Linked DNA regions of Homo sapiens: region 1 is linked to region 2. The links are contacts of gene promoters, found by promoter capture Hi-C in blood cells and fetal thymus (Javierre and others, 2016). All regions are on one chromosome and are shown on one strand. The core of a region is centred on a gene start or on the middle of the fragment in contact, and the rest is flanking DNA. Distances in the headings are between cores, read along the strand shown.

Region 1 (3,542 bases), core at 655-3,154, 530 kb before region 2:
AGAAGTTCGAGACCAGGCTGGGCAACGTAGGAAAACACTGTCTCTACAAAAAAATTTTTTAAATTAGCCATCTGTAGGGGCACATGCCTTGGTCCCAGCTACTCGGGAGGCTGAGGTGGGAGGATCGCTTGAGCCCAGGAATTTGAGGCTGCAGTGAGTCATGACCATGCCACTGCACTCCAGCCTGGGCAACAGAGCAAGACTCTGTCTCAAAAAAAAAAAAAAAGTGCAGAGAGGAATTTAATTAATCATATAGTCAGCCTGAGGTATCCATTAGTCCATCAATAAAAACTTCAGAAGACAGTCTGAAGTAAGTCTGGAGTGTAGATGAGATCTGAGCTGTGGAGATAGTCACATCTAGGTAGAAGTGGCCTAGGAAAAAAAGCTTTAATGACATGCCCATAATTTGGGAACAAAGGTGGGCACAGCAATTCTCTGGGAGGTAGCAGAAAAACAGGGGCAAGTGGAATCAAGGAAGCCAAATTAAAAGAGTTTAAGAGAAGACCAGTCAAGAACATTAAACATAGGCCAGGCAGCAGTGGCTCATGCCTGTAATCCCAATGCTTGGGCAGACCGAGGCAGGAGCACTTGAGACCAGGAGTTTGAGACCAGCATGGGCAGCATAGCGAGACTCTGTTTCTAAAAATAAAGAAATTAAGAACATTAAATACAGCAGAAAGGTCACATGAGATGAACTGAAAAATGACCATTGGATTTGGTATTTGTTACTTTACCATTGTGTTGCAATCGTGTGTGAAAAATGGTGATGCTTTGTCATGAATAGAGACTAACAAAATAATAAATGATTTGAAGGACATGCATCTTTTTTGTTTGTTTGTTTTGAGTCAGGGTCTCACTGTGTCACCCAGGCTGAAATGCAGTGGCGCAATCTCAGCTCACGGCAGCCTCGACCTCCCGGACTCGCCATCCTCCCACCTCAACCTCCTGAGTAGCTGGGACCACAGTCACGTGCCACCACACCCAGATAATTTTTGTACTTTTAGTAGAGATAGGGGATGGGGGTGGGAGGTTCACCATGTTGGCCAGGCTGGTGTGGAACTCCCGGCCTCAAGTGATCCGCCCACCCTGGTTTCCCAAAGTGCTGGGATTACAGGCGTCAGCCACCGCCCAGCCCACTCTTTTAATACTAAACATATTATTTTCCCTGAATTAGATGAAATGTTCAATTTAATCTATTTTATCCCACCTTAGCAGGATTTGGAGAATTAAATTCAGCAGCCAAAGATCAGCTCACAACTTCTATCAGCAAACTCACGCACAAACTGTCATTTGTCAGACACTGTGAGGGACGTTATATGGGATACTTCAGCCTTTCTCAGAACTGAGCCATCCACAGTCAAGGTCTTGCAATAGAACCAATTTGAAAAGTCAAGGCTTCTAATCACCCAGACTCACCAAATTCCCAGGGCACTCAGATCTCACGCCCCAACCAAATCACAACTTCACTGTGGTAACCACCACCCACGTGCCCCCGAGCCTCCATGAACTGCCGGCCTCTAGCCTCAAGGAGACTCCTCCACCCAATCACTCCTTGCCTTGAGCTGGCCGGGAGTTTGGCGCGGGGCAGGGAAGGCTGCTGCTGCTGCTGCTCCGGTCGCCCGCAGCTCCTGACGTGCCAGGACAGGTGGATGCAGAGACCACCTGGACCGAAGGGCGGCTCTGTGGAGTCTCCTGGAGTCCGAAATTGTAGCGGGGACCCTGAGGTGAGCGGGTTTCTCCCGACGACGGGGAAACCGCCGGGGCAGAAGGCGAGGTTGATGAGATCTCAGGCCTCAGCATCCTCCCAAACCTTCCCTGACCCGAGAAGTATGAGGTTTCTGAGCGACCCCTCCAGTAGCCCAACTACAGAAGCTGCGCCGCTGAAACGGGCGGGAGAACTGCGCGCCGACGCACTAAGCTGCACTGCGCAGGCGCAGGCAGGCTCAGCTTTCCACATGGATTCACGTACTTCAGGTCTATGACCCTGCTTCCAGCCATTCCCAAACCCATCACTTTCCACATGAACCTCACTGGAACATCCTCAGCCTGCAGGTATCAGACTGACCAGAACTCTGCAAGGCCCATCAATGACCACCCGATTTGTTAGCCCCATTATTCTCACAGCACCCAATCTCCCTTATTGCAAATGTTACATGCATTTCCCACACGTCCAAGCACACTAGCTTATCTTTAAATGTAGAAACCACCCAACACAGTACACCCAGTGCCTTTGACACAATGAGAACGTGTAATGCTCACACAGCATAACCCACCTAAGGTTGATCTTGTGACCAAATATAGGAAAGATAGTTATATTATCAAAAGATAGTATGCACATGGCTGTGTGCATAGTAGAGTAGGAAACAGGGAAAGACTGACTGGGTAAGATCTCTCAGTTAACAATTCCCCATCTACCAATTTCTAGTACTGTGGTTTCTAACATATAAATCAGTTAATGGCACACTAGAAGTTCAAACTCCAGCTTTGCAGTGGTGACCTTTAGAAAATTCCTTAAATAAGGCCAATAGTACCAACTTACCAGAGATCCATGGATTAAACATGACGAAATTATCTGGATACTGCCATACAGAAGCTATTAGAAGACATTAATTTACACCACTACTGAAATCCTGCCACTGTTGAGTATCTCAATAAACCAGTTATGCACAGCGGTTTACCCACATGCAGTGACAACAGTCCTTAAGAACATCTCTGTTCTTGGAATGATTATTGCACAGGGCATTCCAAACATACTTGAGAAAAATCTCAATTTCCATCAAAAAACCTTATTTTCAGATCGGGCACGATGGCTCCTCCCTGTAATCCCAGTACTTTGGGAGACTGAGGCCAGAGGATTACTTCACCTCCGGAGACCAGCCTGGGGAAGACAGTGCCTGTCCCCAAAATTAAGAAATCAGCTGGGCATAGTGGGCATGGTGGCAGGTACCTGTAGACCCTGGTACTCAGGAGGCTGAGGTGGAAGGACTGCTTGAGCCCAGGAGTTTAAGGTTACAGTGAGCTGTGATTGCACTACTATGCCCCAGCCTGGGGAAGAAAGGAAGACCCTGTCTCTAAAAAATAAAATTTAAAAATAGAGAATACCTCACTTTCACCAAAACTGTAAACCCCTAGAGTGATTGTACTCATTTTAGGCCAGGCGTGGTGGCTCACGCCTGTAATCCCAGCACTTTGGGAGGCCGAGGTGGGTGGATCACAAGGTCAGGCTGGTCTCCAGCTCCTCAGCATGGTGAAACCCTGTCTGTACTAAAGTAACATAAAAATTAGCCGGGCATGGTGGTGTGCGGCTGTAGTCCCAGCTACTCGAGAGGCTGCGGCTGAATTGCTTAAACCCGGCAGACGGAGGTTGCAGTTAAGCTGAGATCGTGCTGCTGCGCTCCAGCCTGGGCAACAGAGATTCTGTCACAAAAAAATAAAAAAGAGTGATTGTACCCATTTTAGCTTTTTAAGAAAAAGACAGGTGCAAAAAAATACTGTGGTGACCATCAACTTACCCGTTAGTGTTTCCTTATTTGAAGACAACT
Region 2 (3,234 bases), core at 610-3,109:
AAGGGAACATTTTTACATAGCTGGTGGGAATGTAAATTAGTACAACCAGTATGGAAAACAGTATGGGGTTTCCTTAAAGAACTAAAGGTAGGTCTACCATTTGATTCAGCAATCCCATTACTGGGTATCTACCCAAAGGAAAGGAAGTCATTATGTAAAAAAGACACAGGCACACACATGTTTACAGCAGCACAGTTCACAATTGCAAGGATATGGAACCAACGTAAGTGCCCCTCAGCCAACAAGTGGATAAAGAAAATGTTGTATATACACACCATGGAATACTACTCAGCCATAAAAAGGAATGAAATAATGCCTTTTGTAGCAACTTGAATGGAGCTGGAAGCCATTATTCTAAGTGAAGTAACTCAGGAATAGAAAGCCAAATACTGTGTGTTCTTACTTATAAGTGAGAGCTAAGCTATGAGGACACACACACACACACACACACACACAAAACATGCAGAGTGATATAATGGACTTAGGGGACTCGAGGAGGGGGAGACTATGAGGAGGTGAGGGATAAAAGAAAACACATTGCATACAGTATATACTGCTCAAGAGATGGGTGCGCTAAAATCTCAGAATTCACCACCTAAGAATTCATCCATGGAACCAAAAATCATCTGTACCCAAAAAACTATTAACATTTTTAAAAATAATTTTTAAATGTAAATAAGAAAAGAAAAAAGACAGATTCAGAAAATGGTTAACAAAATTCATGAAGTAGAATTATCACAATCAAGAAAACCCAGAAATTTAAGGAGAGGGGCAAATTCCTAATCATGTCAGGGTAAATTTATAGGGGACTAGTTGACTCCTCATTGCCTGTTAGAGATGACTGGGCTAAATTTTGATCCAGGGAGGTAATTCTTTTAACTTCAGTAACTCAGAAAATTCTAGACATTGCCCACAAAACCTTTGCAACCTTCACACTGTGAAGGACAAAGAGAGCACCAAGTGGTAAAAGAAACCATACAAATCTCTCAATCTCTAGTTCTTTAAGACAGTTTGTTTTTAAAAGGGCATTTGTAACAAGAAGTTTTCCAGACATAAGCCAATGATCCACTTATGTCAAACAAAAATGTGACAGCACAAATTTCAGTACATAATGATCTTTCAAAGATAGGCTTCGCTTAATACAAACATGTTCATTAAAGTATTATTCAAAATAATAATATATTGGAAACTACACAGATACTCAACAATATGTGAATGATAGTAAATTATGGCCCATCAATTTAATGAAATAGAATGGAACCACTGAAAATCATGTATATATGTTCAACAGTTGATTCTGTTGATTTTCCCTTACAGTTTCTGGGGTCTGGGTTATCATTGCCTTCCTCGCCCTGAAAATAACATTCTCCAATATTTCTCTAGTATTTTGATGGCTTCCTTCTTATATTTAAATTTCTAATTCCCTAGAAATTTATTTTTGTATATAGACTGAAGTGGAAATCAAACTATTTTCCCAAATTGTTGAGTTAATTATTTCAGAATCGTTTGTTGAATAATATACCCATTTCCTCTCTGATTTCTAAAACAATTACTAAATAATAAATTTATATATTTGTTTCTGAATCCTGTAACCTGCTCTAATGTACATTTTTAAGTCTCATGATTGTTTTAATTCTTATGATAAATGTGTATTAATTTAAAATTTTAATAAGTTACTCTAAATTATATTTGGACTTTCAGCAGTAAAATATTTACAAAAATGCAAGATTTTAGTCAATATTAAAAGTTTTTTAAGCATAAGTTTTATTGTATAAAATGGTGTATTAGTCCATTTTCACACTGGTGATAAAGACATACCTGAGACTGGGTAATATGTAAAGAAAAAGGGGCTTAATGGACTCACAGTTCCACGTGGTTGGGGAGGCCTCACAATCATGGCAGAAGGCAAAAGGCACGTCTTACACGGTGGCAGACAAGACAGAATGAGAACCAAGTGAAAGGGGTTTCCCCTTATGAAACCATCAGCTCTTGTGAGACTTATTCACTAACAGAACTGCATGGGAGAAACTGCCCCCACCATTCAATTATCTCCCACGGGTTCCCTCCCACAACATGTGGGAATTATGGGAGCTATAATTCAAGATGACATTTAGGTGGGGATACAGCCAAACCATATCAAATGGTATCAAGGGAAAATATTGGAGTAAATATATCATGATAGTAACATTATTATAACAATGTGAAACTATCATAAAACCAGACAGAAAGAAATCCTATTAAAAATATAAATTTTGAATGTGATAAAGATGGATTTCAAGTCAGTAGCAGAAAGATGATTATTAAATAAATAGTATTGAATTAACTGAAATACCATTCATAAAAATAAAATAAAATTGGATGTTTATCTCATATCTTATACCAAAATAAACACTAAAGCATTGATGATTTTGTATATAAAATATAAAACCATAGAAGTAACAGAAGAAAATGCAAGGGTATATTTATAGAATTATGGGGTTAAGAAAACTTTTCTAAAGATAACACCAAAAGCAGAAAATAGAAATTTTGAAGAATTTCAACACATAAATACACCTTAACTCATTGGAAACAAAGTTGAAAGATAAATGGAAATCTAGGAAAAACAAATATTTTCAACATATATATCTGACCAAATGTATCAACACCTTTTTTATATGAGCTGTTCTTCAAAATCAAAAAGAAAAAAAGATCATCCTATATGAAAGTAGGTAAAAGTCATAAACAGGAAATAATATAATGGCCAATAATGATAGAAATATAGTTCAACTACAGTTAAAAAAAGAATTGCAAATTAATTAAAATATTATTTTTGTCTTATAGGTTGTCAAGTAAATTTTAAAATATTAAAATTTCCGGTGTTGGCCAGAGTGAGGAGAAAAAATCGCCTCATTTTCTACTGGCAGTAGTGTAATTTGATATTTATCAGATTTTATAAAATATTTATCAAACATATAGGTTCTTTTTGATTCAGCAGTTTTCATCCTAGAAACTCATCTAGTGGAAATTTGCATAGATTTCCTAACGTTATAGGCACTATGTAATAGTAATAATAAAATGGAAACAACCTAAATGTTTCTCAATAGGAGATTGATTAAATGAATTACGGTATAGTCAATTATAAAATACCATTTAATCATTAATTATTGGGTAGAGATATATTTATTGGCAAGGAAATGTGCTCATGATATATTGTTAATTCAAGAAATGAAGTTATTAAAATGGCATGTGTAGTAT

The links. Contacts are between HindIII fragments. The CHiCAGO score rates a contact against its expected background, and 5 or more counts as called.
Region 1: a contact is called between the fragment with the promoter of MSH4 here and a fragment that was not itself captured in region 2, in 1 of 17 cell types (M1 macrophages). The highest score is 5.8, in M1 macrophages.

What each region holds. Positions count from the first base shown.
Region 1 is chr1:75,795,244-75,798,785 of GRCh38, reverse strand. MSH4 (mutS homolog 4) reads right to left here and starts at 1,904. Exons shown (of 20, transcript NM_002440.4): 1 at 1,557-1,904. The coding sequence starts at 1,800. The HindIII fragment of the contact is 6,934 bases long and covers 388-3,542 here.
Region 2 is chr1:75,268,720-75,271,953 of GRCh38, reverse strand. The region is part of intron 6 of SLC44A5 (solute carrier family 44 member 5); the gene reads left to right. Among named protein-coding and RNA genes, the nearest start is that of LHX8, 140 kb to the right of the region's middle. The HindIII fragment of the contact is 4,411 bases long and covers 1-3,234 here.